Linked DNA regions of Homo sapiens: region 1 is linked to region 2. The links are contacts of gene promoters, found by promoter capture Hi-C in human tissues and cell types (Jung and others, 2019). All regions are on one chromosome and are shown on one strand. The core of a region is centred on a gene start or on the middle of the fragment in contact, and the rest is flanking DNA. Distances in the headings are between cores, read along the strand shown. Region 1 overlaps MYO5B (myosin VB). Region 2 holds the start of SMAD7 (SMAD family member 7).

What was found. Contacts are between HindIII fragments. The study calls those that stand out against the background at their distance.
Region 1: a fragment that was not itself captured here is called in contact with the fragment with the promoter of SMAD7 in region 2 in 1 of the 25 tissues and cell types used here (lymphoblastoid cells).

The regions. Positions count from the first base shown.
Region 1 is chr18:49,822,348-49,826,752 of GRCh38, reverse strand. It overlaps MYO5B (myosin VB), which reads left to right. Exons shown (of 40, transcript NM_001080467.3): 40 at 130-3,964. The coding sequence ends at 282. The region is part of intron 1 of SNHG22 (small nucleolar RNA host gene 22); the gene reads right to left. Among named protein-coding and RNA genes, the nearest start is that of SNHG22, 11 kb to the right of the region's middle. The HindIII fragment of the contact is 3,104 bases long and covers 1,181-4,284 here.
Region 2 is chr18:48,948,431-48,952,646 of GRCh38, reverse strand. It overlaps SMAD7 (SMAD family member 7), which reads left to right and starts at 1,682. Exons shown (of 4, transcript NM_005904.4): 1 at 1,682-2,835; 2 at 4,210-4,216. The coding sequence starts at 2,223. RefSeq lists silencers at 509-1,208, 2,425-2,744, 3,785-3,984 and an enhancer at 3,851-4,216. The HindIII fragment of the contact is 10,376 bases long and covers 1-2,904 here.

The sequences.
Region 1 (4,405 bases), core at 1,483-3,982, 870 kb before region 2:
GTCCTGAAGTTCTACCTAATTGTCGTAGAAATCTTTCCATGATATATGCCAACTCACTTTTGTGAATTCACTTAAACTGGCTATTTTTAGGGGTACTCAAACTTTACATGGTCTTATTCTTCCCCATAGGCACAACTACAAGAGCGGAATGACCCTCAGCAACTGCTATTAGATGCCAAGCACATGTTTCCTGTTTTGTTTCCATTTAATCCATCTTCTCTAACCATGGACTCAATCCACATCCCAGCGTGTCTCAATCTGGAATTCCTCAATGAAGTCTGAAGATGCATGTTTCCAGCATTAGTTTGATTCCCAATGTGAGCAAGAAGGAAGTATATACAGTAAAGTAAATTCAAGGATCTGTTAAATCTGGTAAAAGTAGATCAAATCAGAGATTGACAGCCTGTGGAGGGTGCTGAACTATACAGAATTAGACACAACTATGTCATTATTTTTTGTACCTACTGCTCAGAATAAAAACACTTGAAATATGGAAGATTTTAAGTTTGATTTCAGTCCAACACATATACATAATTTATAGACACCAAGCAGTCCCCATAGACATATAAAAGGTGTCAATTCTATAAAACGAAGCTGCCTAGTTTTGATCTTTGCATAGAACTAGAGAATGTCCAAATTAAAATACCAAATATATATAAGTCACATAAATTGCCTTCAAAGGGCTTTAACAAATAATGGTACTAATAACCATGATAATGGCATATACTGACATTTCCCAAAGTTTGCAAACCATAGGTGTGGTTGAGTTTGTGGTGAGATGTTTTAAGAACAAAAATATGGGGATGAGACTTCTGAGAAATATTCCCAAAATATTTTTTAATGGCTGATTATACACAGACAGTGGTGTAACTGACCTCCAGACCAGACATTTTGAGTACTGGTTTCTGAAGCAAAATTAGAAGTGCCAGTCCTCAGTGTGCTCAAACGCTTTTGTGTTATCTTGATTTAATGGAAGAGATTATTAAAATGCTGCTATCCCAAACTCCAAGTGAGAAAGATGGAAAAATATTTTGTTTCTGATGCTAGTCCATACACTTTCCAAGTCCCACAAAACTTTCACAAAAATGTATATAAGCTAAATATTAGAAACGGATAACAAACTTGTTTTATTTATAGATGTAAAAACCAAACAAGTCAATATGAAAGCTTTTAATCTCTTAATACCATTAAGCTTCCAGTAAGAGCATCACATAATGCTCTACTGTTCCAGAAACCAAATAGTAAAACAAACTAAAGTTCGCACATCAGATCATCTGAAAAACCTTCAAAAATAATCAGTTCAGGGATATTATACAAAAGTTTGGGTTTTTTTTTTTTAAGAGAATAAAATGGCTTAGGTCAACTTTCCCTTTTCAGGTTATTTTCAACGTTTTTCAAATTTAGCACACAAAAAATTGTAAATATCTCTCCCACAAAATAAGGATTTTAAAAAAGTAATTCAGTAATATAACAGGCTTAGATGTTTGCTGCTCTTAGAATTTTTTTTAACTTGTTTTTGGTTTCTTCAAAAGCAAGCATTCAATTGGAAACCCATATTCTTTCCACACTTTTTTTTACTGTCTTTTCTGTATTTCTTGATAGCAGTATGCTGTTCCCATAAGAAAAAAATGGTATTTGCAAATCATGGAAGAACAGCCTCTGTATTACATTGAGAAAATAAGATTTATCCATGAATTGGAAGTAGAACAGCCTGCCTTCACCCTCTTTTACTCAACCACCCAACTTAAAAGGCTCTTGGAAACACAGCACACTCCACGCTACCTTCTGCACTGTGCCCTTAGAGCACAGCTTCCTCAGTTGTTCTCTGCATCTCCTGGGGCTTAGGCCAGTCTTAGCCTGGGTTAAGGCTGCTGACATTGTGTTCCAATCAGTTGTCATGGGCATTATCCCCTCTACATCCACATTAAACATGCCGGCTTCTCTTGGGCATCGGCAGAGCTGTGCCTTTTTCTTTCAGTTACAGTTACATAATCACTGACGTCCATGACACTTACCCATGGATCCATGTGCTGACTTCATTTAGAAGGCCAATCTAAAACAACTGGGTTTGTGGCTACCTCTTTAAAGTTGTTTGTGAAGGATAATTTGTTTTTTAATGCACTTTAGTTTGAAAGTGAGTCTCTTATGTAAGGACCATCCTTAAAAGACCAAAAATGCCTTGTTAGAGTGTTAAGGAGTTTTGACATGCAGTGGTTCCACAAACACAGTGGCTTACTATCCTTATACACTGTCTTATACCATCATTCTCTCCATCTCTCTTGGTCACTACTCTCTGCTGTCACTGGTTAATCACTAGGTGCCAAGAGCTTACTGAATAAAAGCTTGGCAATTAGAATAAATGGGGAGGGAAGGACCTTATGAATAGTCCATTTAGCCTAAGAAATGGCAGATTTAGTTCTTCTCTTCCAAAAGATAAAGGTATATCCTGGAATTGTACTTAAAACTTACAGATGACTAACAAATATATACTTTATATGTAGTTAATATTTAGATCTGTCTTATTTAATACTTGGAGGCTAGAAGAAGCATCTTTAGGGGAACTATATAATCTTTTGTTAGCATTTTCTCTGCATTTTAAAAAATCATTTCAATTCAAACATTTATCAGTGTCATGAAATCAGTAATGACTCTTTAACAATTCAGGTTTGAACTCTGCATTAGATGTCTCTTTAATTTTTTAATATTTAAAATTTAGTTGACATTTTTTTCACCAGGTGCCTTTAGCGGTTACTAAGATAACTGACATCAGTTGTTTCTCTGAAATAAGTGTTGCTGTGGGAATAATTTTAATGTTCAAGGTGATATCATGGGGGAGTTTTGTCTTTTAAAACATTAGAAGCATTTTAAATATTAAGAATCAAATATTTATAGATCAAAACTTGTGTTTTAAGTATTATACGGGACCTGTTTACTTATAGTAAATGTGAATGTACACATGAGTTGTTGCTGAAGCTGACAAGCATATTACATACATGCATTTTCCCTGTGCCCTCATAGTTGCAGTTAGAGTTCCAGTACCTGTAGGCTCACCTGGGAGGCAGATTAGACCCAAAGGTAGATGTTTTTCCCCTTTCCATGAAGCATGTCAGTGGGAGTTGCTTCCTTTGATTTCCCTAGTACTAAATTTTAAGGCTTTTGTAAAAACAAAACAAAACTAGGAGCTTGGAACAGTTAAAAATCAACACTGCTACCATCAATTCATCAAATATTTACTTAGAGCTTTCATACATTAAGATTCCAGTAACCAATAAATTAGAATTCATTTCTTCTGCATAAAGTAAATTTTCATACACTTGACCTACTAAGACAGCAAGGGTGTCCTAAATTGAGGCATTTGTATAATGCCTGCATAACTAAATGGTCACTAAAATGGGACAGCATGGGGCAAGACCTTGTAGTTCTTCACAGAATATTTGTGGTCAGTTTCTCCAATTAATTTGCTGCATGAGCCAAATAACCATAATTCACTTTTTATACCCACTGGTGCCATAATTAGAGAATTAGAGGGTGTAGACAGAGGTTAATGCCAATGAGAAACACAGGACAGGGTTTTTTTTATTATAAAGGTCATTAGATACAAAAGATTGTTTTTCAAAAAATTTCTAATTCTAACAAAGGGGATCAATCAGAAATGAAACTAAGCTACTTTCTAAAGTGACACTGTATCAGAATAATCCAGATTTGAATATAACATTTTGCCACCAACTGACATTTAGATGAAGGACTGCCTCTCTGAAAGAGTTCAGATCATATTCAGGGGTGAATCCAACACCATGGAAGAAAGACTACTGATGAAAATATTTTCCCACTTTGCACAAATCTGTAAACTACACCTTTGTTTATAGAAAAATGCTTGTAATAGTCACTGTAATATTTAGCTGTGGATAAAAATTTGTGGAAATAAATACTTTTGAATAAAGAGGTGTGCCAAATCTAAATGAAATTTAAAACTCTGCAGCTACAGGTTGACAAAGTTTCTTTGTAATGCTCTCTTGAGAAGCTTCATTATGGGGCCTATATTCTAATACGTGTCAAGATCATTTAAACCAGAGGTCAGCATCTTACAGTCCAAAAGTTGGGGGCAGGGAGAAACTCTCAGATAACAAGGCTTATTGAGCAATTACTTTAAAGCTATGGAATTAAAGGCAGTTTTGGTGTAGGCAAAGACAAGTAGATCAACGAAACAGAATAGGGAGTGCAAGGATAGGCCCAATCCTATGTATAACATAGCATACGGTAGAGATGGCATGAAAAATCAGTGGGGAAATAGTCATAAGATCTGTATGGAGGAATTTGTAAAATATAAGTGAAAAACAATGACAACATTAAAATGGAGAAATAATTAGGTACAAGAATTCGAAGACTCCATACCACTAAAAGTTTG
Region 2 (4,216 bases), core at 433-2,932:
TAAACCGAGACAGCGCTCTCCTCCCCTTGCCCTCGGGCGCGGCCAAGGGATCCACCGCCAGGGCCTTTAAAACAAAACCAATGAATGAAGCGCTAGGGCGAGCGCGCGCGAGATGGCCACCGCGAAACCCAGCCGGGTCGAAATCGGGCCACCGACCCGCTCGCTCAGCTCCAAAACTCGCGGCGAAGCCCGCTCGGTGCTCCCTGCTTTTCCAATTTCTCCATGGCTCCGGCCGGGGCTCAATCCATTCTGGGAGCTTCTCTGCCCCCCACCTATCTCTCTCCCCTCCATCGGTACCCCCTCTACAGACCCGGGAGGGGGTGGCGGTGGCGGGGGGTTGGGGGGAGAAATAGCTTTTAGAAACCCGATCTGTTGTTTGCGAAACACAATCGCTTTTTTTTTTTTTTTAAAGCGACAGGGTGTCTAGACGGCCACGTGACGAGGCCGGAGCCGGGCGCGCCACTGCGCAGTGGAACCAGCCGAGCAGAGGGCCGGAGGGGGGGTGCGGGGGGGCGGGGAGGAGGCGGCGCGGCTGCGGCGGCTGGGGGCGGGGGAGGGAAGGGGGAGGAAGGGGGAGGGAAGGGGGCGGGGGCGGGAGGCCTTGCGGGAGGCGGTGAGCCCCGGGCACACTCGCTTGCTGCTCGGCGCACGGAAGATCCTGTCCCCGAGCCGCGCCAGCCGAGCCAGCCGGGCGCCGTGCTCGGTCCGCTCGCCGCGCGGGAGAGAGCTGCCCGAGACAGAGCCAGTCCGTCGGCGCCGAGCCGCCGAGCGCCCGGCCCCTGAGCCCCTGAGTGCGGCGCGGCGAGCCCCTGGCGGCGGCAGAAGGACCGGAGCGCCAGGAGAGGGCGGACCGGGGACAAGGAGGCTCCCGGGCGCGACGAGGAGAGTCTCGGAGGAGGAGGCGCCGAGAGGACACCGGGGCCTCCTGCCGCCGCAGCTGGGTCGAGGCGAGCAGCCCATGCGGGGAGCCTCGGCGGCCAGCCGCGGCCAGGGGAAGGGACATCGGCGGCCCCTGCACTAGCAAGCAGCTTGTGCCCGGGGGGGGCGAGAACGCGCGACCCGTCTGGGGCCCTCCGCCGCCGCCGCGCCACCCTCCCCCGCGCTGTCAGCCCCGCCGGGCTCAGCCGCCGCCGCAGCATCTTCTGCCCCTGCGCCCGCGCCAGCCTCGAGGAAGTCCCCGCCGAGGACCTGGGCCCCCAGGAGCGCAGGGGGAAAGACCAGAGACTCCCCTAAACCACCCAGATGCGCAGGATTGAAGCGGTCTAGCCAAAGCTTTCTGTGGATTAAAAAAATACACGATTTTTTTTTTTTTTTTTGGCAGAAGAAAAGGAGAGGAAGACCAGCGGGGCTTTGCAAGGAAACGGGGGGATGTAACTCGTGGATACATTTTTCCACCCATCAAACATCTTGTTATACTTTGTAAACATTTTCTTTTTTTAAACCCCAGTTCCAGCCGGACGCCCCCAGACCTCTGAGGTTCGAGGAGGTGGTGGTTTTCATTTGGGGCTTTGCATATTTGGTTGTTAGGTTTTGCGAGAGCCTTCTTATTTTGCCAGACGTCTCATGCGGGGTGAAGTCCACTCGGCCCCCTCCCCTGAGTCTTCGTGTGCGCGGAATTCGAGGAGATCCGGTTACTAAGGATATAGAGGAAAAAAATAAATCGCTTGCTTTTTTTTTTTTAATTGCCTGCTTCTCCCCACCCCCAAATTAAGTTGCTTAGCAAGGGGGAAAGAGGCTTTTTCCTTCTTCCAACAGCCCAGCCGAACGCCTTTCGTTTTTTGCCCCCGCGGACCTTCCATGTAGGAAGCCGAGGCTGGCGAGCCCGACATTCGGGAGCCACTGCGGGGGGGCCTCTTTTTGGGGAGGCGCCGACGGGGGCAGGCTCGGCCGTCCCCAGGGAAGCGGCGGCCGGGTTCCTCCGGGGCGCGCCGGGGCCGGAGAGCCGCGCAGGGCGCGGGCCGCGCGGGGTGGGGCAGCCGGAGCGCAGGCCCCCGATCCCCGGCGGGCGCCCCCGGGCCCCCGCGCGCGCCCCGGCCTCCGGGAGACTGGCGCATGCCACGGAGCGCCCCTCGGGCCGCCGCCGCTCCTGCCCGGGCCCCTGCTGCTGCTGCTGTCGCCTGCGCCTGCTGCCCCAACTCGGCGCCCGACTTCTTCATGGTGTGCGGAGGTCATGTTCGCTCCTTAGCAGGCAAACGACTTTTCTCCTCGCCTCCTCGCCCCGCATGTTCAGGACCAAACGATCTGCGCTCGTCCGGCGTCTCTGGAGGAGCCGTGCGCCCGGCGGCGAGGACGAGGAGGAGGGCGCAGGGGGAGGTGGAGGAGGAGGCGAGCTGCGGGGAGAAGGGGCGACGGACAGCCGAGCGCATGGGGCCGGTGGCGGCGGCCCGGGCAGGGCTGGATGCTGCCTGGGCAAGGCGGTGCGAGGTGCCAAAGGTCACCACCATCCCCACCCGCCAGCCGCGGGCGCCGGCGCGGCCGGGGGCGCCGAGGCGGATCTGAAGGCGCTCACGCACTCGGTGCTCAAGAAACTGAAGGAGCGGCAGCTGGAGCTGCTGCTCCAGGCCGTGGAGTCCCGCGGCGGGACGCGCACCGCGTGCCTCCTGCTGCCCGGCCGCCTGGACTGCAGGCTGGGCCCGGGGGCGCCCGCCGGCGCGCAGCCTGCGCAGCCGCCCTCGTCCTACTCGCTCCCCCTCCTGCTGTGCAAAGTGTTCAGGTGGCCGGATCTCAGGCATTCCTCGGAAGTCAAGAGGCTGTGTTGCTGTGAATCTTACGGGAAGATCAACCCCGAGCTGGTGTGCTGCAACCCCCATCACCTTAGCCGACTCTGCGAACTAGGTGAGAAGTTGTCCCCCTACCCCCAACATTTTCCGGAGCGCCAGTGCTGGAAGAAAAGCCCCTAGGGCAGTGCGTTTGTGCAGCCATCCCTCCAGGGGGAGTGTGCATACCCTCCTGGGAGAGTGTGCATACCCTCCTGGGAGAGTGTGCATACCCTCCTGGGAAGAGACTGGGGGCTGAAAGTAGAGAAGGGACAAGGGGAAACTCAAAGGGCATTCCCTGGGGGTTCCCTTCCAGGTTTTCTCCTGTGTTGCCCCGAAGGGGTCTACGGGCACTGCTCCTGCAGTCTGCGGTTAAAAATTAGACGCCTTCATTTCCGGATCAACAAGGGGGTGCAGAGGGAGGTGGGGGGGTCACGCCTCCCCGCACCCGGAAAGACGTTGAGGTGTGTGGCCGAGTTGGATTTGGTCCAGGCCCGCCAAGGAAGGCTGGGAGAGGCGTGCTATAAAGGCTGGAAGGTCTCCGTATTTACTCCTTTAGTAAATACGGAGAATCACGTCGAACACCAGTGGCCCAGATACTGTCGTGGCCGCGCACCTTTGGAGTTTTGGGGCAAAGAGAGTTGGATGGAAGGCCGAACTGGGTATCTGTCTCCTTTCAACTCTGCCAGCCCCAGGGTGCAGAGGAACAAACAGGCAGGAGAAGTTGGGTGTCCCCTACTTTTTCCTTCCTTCCGCACAGATAAGTCTGTAGATTAGTGGGGCCCCGGCGCCTCAGTGACGTTGTCGCCTCTTACTGCGCTGGGGCCTGGGCTTCTCGGCTGAGACCCTGAAACTCCTTTCCTTTTATCCTCTCAGCTTTCTCCATTCCTTCCTTTACTCTACGTCTCTGTACACAGAGTGTGATGTGAGGGTTCACCCCGGGCGCCCGCAGATCCCCCACGTTCCCCAGCACGCTTGGGATGCATCTCCCGAGTGCGCTAGGAATGGGCAGCCCCGTGTCCCCCGCGCGAGTGCCGAGCGGACCGGCGGGGGCAGAGGTGAATTGCACGCCTGGGGGGCGGGCCGGGGCGGGGAGCCGAGGTTGCTGGGAGCTGGGTCTGGAGTCCGAGGACGGGGAGGGGGCATGGTCGCCCCCCGCCCTGTGAACTGTGAAGTGCGCGGCTCCGGCCGAGCCGGTGGTTTCCAGCCGGGCCAGCCGAGCGCGGCGGCTGCGGCCGCAGACGTGGAGGAGCGGAGCGCCGAGGCTGGCGCCAGGCGGCCTCTTTTGTTTATCTGACAGCTAAATATCAAGGCAATCACCGCCTCGCGGCCCTGCCTCCAACCCCCACAGCTAAGACAAACAGTTGGGCTAAAAGAATGCCTCTGTTATCATAAGTTTCTATCTCTCTTCTCATGGCTGGGCCTTTATTTTCTCTTGCTTTTTTAATTTCAGAGTCTCC